Regions from separate parts of the Homo sapiens genome. Here region 1 is linked to region 2. Evidence: promoter capture Hi-C in 16 types of primary human blood cells and fetal thymus (Javierre and others, 2016). All regions are on one chromosome and are shown on one strand. The core of a region is centred on a gene start or on the middle of the fragment in contact, and the rest is flanking DNA. Distances in the headings are between cores, read along the strand shown. Region 1 holds the start of CCNC (cyclin C). Region 2 holds the start of NDUFAF4 (NADH:ubiquinone oxidoreductase complex assembly factor 4).

Region 1 (4,541 bases), core at 13-2,512, 2.7 Mb before region 2:
TCTCTACTAAAAATACAAAAATTAGCTGGGCGTGGTGGTGTGAGCCTGTAGTCCCAGCTACTTGGGAGGCTGAGGCAGGAGAATCGCTTGAACCTGGGAGGCAGAGGTTGCAATGAGCCTAGATAGCGCCACTGCACTCCAACCTGGGCGACAGAGCAAGACTCCGTCTCAAAAAAAAAAAAAAAAAAAAACCGCCTGATCCAGGCCGGGCCTGGTAGCCCACGCCTGTTAATCCCAGCATTTTGGGAGGCTGAGGCTGACGGATCACCTGAGGTTAGGAGTTCCAGACCAGCCTAGCGAAATCCCCTCTCCACTAAAAATACAAAGATTAGATGGACGTGGTGGCACGCGCCTGTAATCCCTGTAATCCCAGCTACCTGGGAGGCTGAGGCAGCAGAATCATTTGAACTGGAAAGGCAGAGGTTGCTGTGAGCCGAGATTGTGCCACTGCATTCCATCCTGGGTGACAGACCCAGACTCCGTCTCAAAAGTAAAAAACAGGCAGGGTGCGGTGGCTTACGCCTGTAATCCCAGCACTTTGGGAGGTTGAGGAGGGCGGATCACGAGGTCAGGAGTTTGAGACTATCCTGGCCAACATGGTGAAACCCTATCTCTACTAAAAATACAAAAATTAGCTGGGCATGGTGGTGCGCGCCTGCAGTCCCAGCTACTCGGGAGGCTGAGGCAGGAGAATCGCTTGAACTCCTGGAGGCGGAGCTTGCAGTGAGCCGGGATCGTGCCACTGCACTCCAGCCTGGAGACAGAGCAAGACTCCGTCTCAAAATAAATAAATAAATAAAGTAAAAAAAAAAAAGGAACACTTGATCCCTGAGAACAAAGTCATCTTCATTTATTTCTCTTTCCAATCACAGGAAAAATAAGTCACAAAACCTTGTACTTTATTACAATGCCACATTGTTCTGTTTTTGAAGTCCTGGAAGAGGTAATAACAGAACCCCGTATCTGAGCCACTTCGCCTAGGTTAGACCCACTCAGCAACTCCCGTGCTGAAGACAGGAGACCGAGCGGCTTGGGCCCCCGGCCAGAATTCTCAAGACGCTCTCGCGAGAGCCTTCCAACCGCCGCGAGCTCTCGTGAACACTAGTTCTCTTCAATCTCAGCACCTCCAAGGGTCAGCACCTCCCCTCCGGCTCCCTCCGCTACCGCGGGCCGGAACTTTTGTCGATAGGAACGGGTTTGCACAGTTGAGTGTTGTCGGCCGGCGTGAAGGAGACTAGGGGGCCATCCTCTTCCTTTCGCCGTCGCCGCCGCGGAGCGGAGTCGAGCCGAGCTGATTTGATCGAGGAGCGCGGTTACCGGACGGGCTGGGTCTATGGTCGCTCCGCGGGCCGCTCCGCCGGCTGGTGCTTTTTTATCAGGGCAAGCTGTGTTCCATGGCAGGGAACTTTTGGCAGAGCTCCCACTAGTAAGCGATCTTCCGTCTTCTCACCTGGGGCCGGTTTTTGGGGGAGCTGTGAGGACGGGGCCTGTGACTCCCCTGGGCCTGGATCCCAGCTCAGTTCCGAGTGCCGGGGTCCTCACGGGAGACCGCAGCGGTCAGAATCAAGATGCGCTTTTCTGAGGCGACTCCCCTCCCCGCCCCCAGCCCCAGTTTCGGGGAGGGAAGGATCTGTGAGGGGGAGGGGTGGGAGAGAGTTTCGTCTCCCGGGAAGGAACGTTTCGGAGTTTAATTTCGGATTCTTGGTTTAGCTAGGCCGCGGGGGGTCGGATAGAGTGGGCACAGGTACGGGAAGTGTGACTCAGCTCAAGACTGTGAGGCTACCTGTTCAGGACAGTTGTGGCGTGCTTTTACCTGGGGTTTCTTCGGGTGATCGGCGTCGTGGTCTTTTGTCATTCACTGTATATCTTGAGTGGATTTAATATTATGAGGAGAGGAGAGAGTCTGGCTTGTTTCTGCCTACTAACCGCTTCTTGCGCGTACTTTATGTCTAGATGGAGTTTTATATTGATAAGGTATAGGGCAGGTGCCCTCTAAATTTATCCATTTCATTAGCCTGTGCTTTATATTTTGTTTTAAAGGCCTATTTTTCCAGTGACTTTGTTTACCTGTTTCTTTAACCTTTTTCATGAATAAGTTCTTGTTTCTGTCAGTGACCATGTGAGAGCTAGAATAATATTAAAAACATTTATCCCTAAATACATTTGTTTAAGCAGGCAGGAAGGTGCGTTATGGGGTAAATTGAACATTTGAGTAGGCTTTCCACTGTATAGTTGAAAGATGAACAGAATTTGACAAGGTATCTTGGTATAATTTTTTATGCTAAGAAAGCATTAGTAAGTAATTTAAATTTCGATTCTGTGAATAGGATCTGTTCCTGATGTTCATTTTTTAGCCCTTTGCAAAGAGAAAAAAAGAAACAATGAACTCAGTAACCTATTTAAGGAAAAGCAGGTTTTCCTCTTGCTATAAAGTGATTCTGTGGAGATGACATGTTAAAGAAGCTTTACCACTGATCATATGTGTGTGTGTGTATATATATGTGTGTGTGTGTATGTATATATATATGTGTGTGTATATATGTTGCATTGTTTTCACACACTGAAATATTGCTTGGGCAAAATTAAAGTATCGAAAGTTTAGGTATTGGAGTTAGAGCTCCTGAAAAAAAAAGTTTAGGTAGTGGAGAAGAGATATTCTGATAAACTCTGAAAGAAGCTGAGAGAATTGACAAGTAGCTGACTGTTGATTTTTCAGTTTTTCAACTTAAAAAAAAAAGATCCTGCCTTATTTTCAATAGTGTTCTCATTATGCTTTCATTTATTCATAGCATTCTAAAAATATGTTTTCACTTTTCAAATATAAAATTATTATAAAGTTAAGTGTACTTCTTTGAAACTATTCTTTTCTCCCAATTCAAATAGTCCTAAAAGAAGGGACCACTTTGCCTTGCTCAAATCCCTTGAGCAGTCATGGAGTTTCTTATCTGGAAAAGGTAACGAGTGTGGAAGACAAGACAATTCTGGAAAAACAAACGAAAAGATTATGAAAGGCCATTGTCTTAGGTGAATTTGGTGAAAGAGGGCAATTGATATTAAATATGCTATATTTCATGCTTCTAAGATGCACGTTTTCACACTTTAACATCTTTGAAATCAGCATGGCAGTTGCTTTCATAGCATATGAAATAATGATGAATCCTAGATGTAATCTTAAATTTGATGAAATGCAGTATTTATAAAGTTTTTTAGTTTATTCTCCATACAGAGTTCTGTGAGGAAAACTCATAAAATGTTTGTGAAATTTATCTTTTTAAAAACATAAAATGACTCTGTGGGGATGAAATTAATTAGCAAACCACAGTGTAGTTGAGGTAGAACAAAACACAGTCTGTGACCAAAATGAACTAGAAGGGCACTAAGTATTTGCTGGTTAATTGAATGCATTAATGAACAAGTAACAAAAATAAAAACTACAAAACTAACTGTGGATACTTTATTGGTATCCACAGGAAACTGAAAATACAGTTACTTACTATCTAGAAAATAACATCATAATAGTACCATATATGGAATGTAACCAAAGCTTGAATGTATTAGAAAATCAATATCCTGAATAATTGAGAGATAATAGAAATATTCTATTTAATAATATTAAGAAGGAAACATGAAATAAACCTAAAGAAACAGAAAGACTTAAAATAGATAACGATGCTAATATATTAAAAGGAAAAAAATTATAAAAGCTAATTCTTAGAGTAAATAAAAACAGTAGACCAAACTACTGCTAGTTAAATCAGGGGAAAAAGGAATGATACAAAAATACAAAATTAGGAATGAGAAAAGTAAACCCAGGGGTACTTTTGGGTTATCTCCAGGGTTTTAAATTTGAAAGCCAAAGCAAGTTAAGAGTATTACCCAAGAGCTATGTGTTATTTCATGGGTAAATACTTTCCATCTTTCAAGAGAATCTCCTTTTGAAATTGTTCCATTTCATACAGAAAGAAGAAAAGCTTTCTAATTCTCTTTATGAAGCCATGATAACACAGAAAAATCTAGCAAAGGGAACACTAAAAACAGTCTCACTTTTGAATATTAATGCAAACATTGTAAATGAATTATTACCAAATGCAGTCTAACATTACATTGAAAGTATAAAACATGACATTGGATTTTATTATAGAAATATAGTCAATATTAAGAAATCAAGCAGTAAAGGTATTAAAAAACTAATACAATTCAACATTTATCCTTGACTAAAGCTCTTACTAAAACAGAAATAGGATGCTTCCTTAACATGAAAAACATAAAGCATCAGCAGTGGTGAAACATTGAGATAATTAGGGTGCCTATTTAAGATTTTACCAATATGCTAGTCAATACAGTTGATACAAAGGAGATATAGAAAGAATGACAAAACAGGGACAAAATTATCAATACGTGGAAATAAAATTAATGAGAAAACTCAGTTAATTGAGAAGTTATTAGAAATAATAAAGGTTTAGGAAGGTGACCAGTTATAAAATGCAAAAATAAAAGCTTTTTAAAAATGGATAGAGAAGTATAATTTACATTAGCAACAG
Region 2 (4,866 bases), core at 1,933-4,432:
TCAATATGAATACTGGATCTGCACAAAGCCTAGTTTGTTTTGGTTTTGAGTTTGTGGCACTACCCCCCGCTCCCAGTATTCTAGGTTTTACAGACCCAAAACACTGCATCACTATGAAATTGGCCAAACTTGGGAACCTTGTAAATTATTTCAGTTGGACTCCTACAAATTCTCTGGTTTCTAATCTGGAATCCAGGCCCTGGAGAGGTTCTCTCTGCCTGAACACCAGAACCTCTGCCAGAATAAGTCATTCCTCCATAAATCTGTTGTGCTCCTCACTAGTGGTTGAGATTTGATTGATGAAACCTCTGAGGGCTGTCCTGGGCCCCTTGAGCCAACTGTCACCTGGGTTTAGCTACTGTAATCCTTTGGAGAACGCAGAATGCTGTTGAATTATGTTCAAAAGAAGGAGTACCCAATGGTAAAAGTCTAGGCAGAGAGAAAGACATGAGGGCAGAGGGAAACAAAGTGGGGACTATTTCTGTGGCCAATGTCAGGCACAGGCAGGTGGCATTTTATGCCCGAGAACTAATGATTCCCACCCATATTCCAACCTTAATAAATCTAACAATACCACCACGTGTGCTGAGCACGTTAATCAGCAAATAAAAATCAAATTTAGCATTTTTTATTTTTTAAAAATTAAATTATTGAAGAACATGAGTCTTACCGTAATCTCAAATTTTTTTATCACTTTCATTCACCTATTCACCAGAGCTTCAGAATATGTGTCCTTTTTAAAACTGCTCCCTTCTCCTCTGAAAAATGAAAAACAATGCAAATATTGAACATCAGATTCTGAGCTGGGCATTGTACTAGACACATATTTTTAATCTGTGTAAAACCCCTTAGGTGATTACTATTATCCCAATTTTAAGATGAGCAAAGTGTGTTCAACCACATTAAGTTACTTGCATAAGGACTCACTTCTGGAAGCAGGGCTAGTGTTCAGGCAGAGAGAACTTGTCTGGGGTCTGGACTCCAGCTCAGGGATCCTACTTGTCTTTCAGTTCATTTGACCTTTATTTGATAATTGTTTAGTACCTACTGTGTACTAGCTGTTCAATGTGTTGAACAGTGAACAAAACAGACAAAGTTCTGTCCTCAGAATTTACATTCTAGTGTGTTGTCAAGACCCTGGGTTTATTAGTATCTTAAGATATTCAGCCATACACATGCATCATAATACTCCACTCAGATGGAAGCTTCATTCTAAGCAGCATCCTAGTTATACTTTCCTTGGGGATCTGACTTCAATCCTTAACATAAGCCCAACAGGAGTTCTTAAGTTCAGAGTTCCTGTTAATTTATATGTTTTGACAAGAAGAGCTGGAATTATGCATTTATGGTTCAGGTTTTATTTCCATGATTCCCAAAGGGTGACAGCCAATTGTGAGTTTCTGATGGAGTGCATCTGCCTTCTGTTTTGCAATTTGAGGGCCTGAGCAGCACTGGGCCAGGATCAGGCAAAGCAGCTGACACATGCTGGAAGCTCTTTCAATGTTGAATCCAAGCTCTATTGGAATGTGTGAATTCAAATAATTATTTCATATTGTAATCCCTACTGTCCTGACAGTCACTTCTAACATTACTTTTTCATACTGCCCGAAGTTCGGTGGAATTTCTATGAAAATGAGATTTTCACTTTTAAAATATTTTAACAGGCAGTGAGTCGAATTGCTACCATGATTAAAGCACATAGACATAATGAGGCAGATTAAAATTTCTTAGCACCCATAGAAATAGAAATACCGTGCCTAAAAAGCCCTGAATCACAAGCATGCTTAAAAGTATCAAAGATAGAAATCTTGGAGCAGCCTGCCACCTTCAGGATAACTTCCCAGTTAATGCTATCTGAGATCACTGATTTCAGCTTCTATAAATTCCAAATACCAATCCCTGTAAAAATGTTCAGTATAATTAAATAAAGGGCATTTAAATTAGAGTGGCTGAAGCCGTCTTCCTTGCAGTGCTTTTGCTCTGATTAAGCATTATACTTAATGATTACATTAGTTTTCTTTTTAAAAAACTTTCCCTTTCTTCATTTTGGTTCTTTGATTCTTGTTTTATTATTATTATTCTATTCGATTATCTTTACATCAATATTTTCTTACTTTAAGCTGGTTAAAAACATCCACTCTACTTCATTTTGCTAAGCAGAGATCAGAACACTAAAAATAGATTTTGCAGCCACAGTAAGAGAAATACTGTAACTTCCTTCCTACTGCTTCCTTCCTGGTGGGTTTTATTTTAGATTAATAACAATATTTCTAAAGGGTCTTAAATAAAAGCAGCACTACAGTAACCCATTCAGGAAATGGAGAGAGACGGAGAAGGTGAATGTAACACTCGTTTTTTTGTTTGTTTGTTTTTTTTTTCTGACGTCTTATTGTCTGTTCCTTTCATTAAATTACACAGAGGCTTAAAAAGAATGAAGAAGGCAAGAGAGAAGAGAAATAGGAGAGGGAATGACTCAGCATTTAGTAGCATGGAGAAGTAAATTAGTAGCAAAAATAAGATAAGGGAAAGTATAACTAAAATCGATACCATTAGGTCAAATGAGAACGGGATGTAAAAAATAATGGAAAAAGAATACAGTGGCTTGAAAATGCATCAGGCGGGGGGACAGGAAAATAAGAGGCATTTAAATGAGAGCGGCTGAGAACAAATACTCATCGAAAGGGAACATCCTTTCATTATTTTCCTTTCACAAAAGCAGGAAAGGGCAACTTGAGAGCCCAGTTTGACCCTGGTTCAGTAAGTTCCATTTTTATCGGCTAACTCTTTGGTGGCATTGCCCTGTGAAACAACTTCAAGGTCAACTTCCTTACGACTTTGATTTTCAGCTCTTCACTGAAACTTTGGAATCACGTGGAGTCTTATCCAATGCTGGGCCTCACTCCACAAGAATTAAATCAGAAAGTCTGGGGTAGGGCCCGGCACAGAACTTTACAGAGCTTCCCGGGTGACTCCCTCGGAGTTCCAGCGTTAAAAGCAACCGTGGGTCTGGGGACTTAAGCCCCGCCACCTCCCGCCGGAAGCGGCCCTCGTGGGAGCCGTCACTCGCCCCGAAGGGAGGGGCTCCCTTTTAAATGCCCTGGGCAGAGAAGCGGTGTGTGGCCTCCCGAGCGCTAGGGGGCGACGGGCACGCATTTAAGCGCCCGCGGCGGGGCTTCCCCTCACTTGTGCGCATGCTCCGGGTGTCCCGGAGTTGTCCTGCGCCGGTGTTCCCACGTGCGGCCTGAACCTGAGCGCATAATGTTATGAGGAGATGGGAGCACTAGTGATTCGCGGTATCAGGAATTTCAACCTAGAGAACCGAGCGGAACGGGAAATCAGCAAGATGAAGCCCTCTGTCGCTCCCAGACACCCCTCTACCAACAGCCTCCTGCGAGAGCAGATTAGTCGTGAGTGGTGCGAGGGCGTTTCGGGGCCCGGGGGCGCGGAGTCCCTGTGCTGCCCGGCTGTCCCTAGCGTGGGTCCGGAGGCCGAGGGATCGGCGTCAGCCTGCTCGGCCGCAGCCGCTCGGGTTGGCGGAGCGTTGGAAGGGGGAGCCGCCAGGCCGGTGACATTGAGACTGTCCTCCGCGCCCGCGGTGAGGTCGGCGGCCCCGCCTACTTCCGAGACCCAGAGGCAGCAGCCAGTGCTCCCGCTAACCAGGCCCTCGCCGGCTGCTGTCACGGACTTGATACAGGGAATCAAAATCCGAGAGGGTCACAGAGCTTTCTCTAGGGGTCTTCACTGGACGATGGACGCAGAGCCTGACCTGGAATTTTGATTTCCATCTAAAGTATTTTCCTAACAGTCCAAATGATTATGTTTATTTTTTAAAAAAATTAAAGTGGTTAGGCCGGGCGCGGTAGCTCAAGCCTGTAATCTCAGCACTTTGGGAGGCCGAGGCGGGCAGATCACCTGAGGTCAGGAGTTCGAGACCAGCCTGGCCAACATGGCTAAACCCCGTCTCTACAAACAATGCAAAAATTAGCCGGGCGTGGTGGCGCGCCTGTAGCCTCAGCTTGTCGGGAGGCTGAGGTGGGAGAATCTCTCGAACCCGGGAGGCGGAGGTTGCAGGGAGCCGAGATCGCGCGACTGCACTCCAGTCTGGGCAACAGAGCGAGACTCCGACTCAAAAAAGAAAATAAAAGAAAGCGTTTGTGTTAAGCGTTTAGGATATTACAGGAAATTTTCCTTGATTTTAATATTGTGACTTTTTTCCTTTCCTTAGTCTATCCAGAAGTTAAAGGAGAGATTGCTCGTAAAGATGAAAAGCTGCTGTCGTTTCTAAAAGATGTGTATGTTGATTCCAAAGATCCTGTGTCTTCCTTGCAGGTAAATGTGTGTTTAATTAAGTGAATACACAATTTACTTATTTTGGGGCTTCAGGAAAATGATTAAGTGTGGCAAGTAGTAAAAAGAGTGCTCTGCAAGTGTGTGTTGTGATCAATCTACACGCCTTGGCAAAGTTTAAGCACACTGGTGTAAGACAGCAAGACACTTATGCCTTGGTTCACTGGATATTTACCAGAATTCTAAAATAACTTGTGGAAGTATTGATACAAGCAACTGTGTGAATTATTTCATAGTATTTCAGAATTTGTAGGATTTGGTAAGGCATTACTTCCAGTGGTTGTCATTTGAGTGACAAAAGCAGAGCTTTAATATTATTTTCTCATTCTTCTGTGGATTGAGGTATGTTCTAATCTCAGAGACTCCTTTAGTAAGTGGTGTTGTTGGATTTTGTGGGGTGTTCCTGTTTGTTTTTTTAAGGATGTATTCAGATAGGATATTTAAAATTAGAAGGATCAAAGAATACATTAGGAATGGGAACCTATGTGTAAATCCATATTCTGTATTATGTAAGTCCTG

What was found. Contacts are between HindIII fragments. The CHiCAGO score rates a contact against its expected background, and 5 or more counts as called.
Region 1: a contact is called between the fragment with the promoter of CCNC here and the fragment with the promoter of NDUFAF4 in region 2, in 2 of 17 cell types (non-activated CD4 T cells and fetal thymus). The highest score is 7.4, in non-activated CD4 T cells.

What each region holds. Positions count from the first base shown.
Region 1 is chr6:99,565,381-99,569,921 of GRCh38, reverse strand. It overlaps CCNC (cyclin C), which reads left to right and starts at 1,262. Exons shown (of 12, transcript NM_005190.4): 1 at 1,262-1,426. The coding sequence starts at 1,395. It also overlaps the pseudogene TSTD3. RefSeq lists enhancers at 905-954, 1,075-1,364, 1,485-1,564. The HindIII fragment of the contact is 11,578 bases long and covers 1-2,465 here.
Region 2 is chr6:96,896,207-96,901,072 of GRCh38, reverse strand. NDUFAF4 (NADH:ubiquinone oxidoreductase complex assembly factor 4) reads left to right here and starts at 3,182. Exons shown (of 3, transcript NM_014165.4): 1 at 3,182-3,407; 2 at 4,226-4,329. The coding sequence starts at 3,272. It also overlaps a transcript of KLHL32 not described here. RefSeq lists an enhancer at 3,260-3,359. The HindIII fragment of the contact is 8,617 bases long and covers 1,208-4,866 here.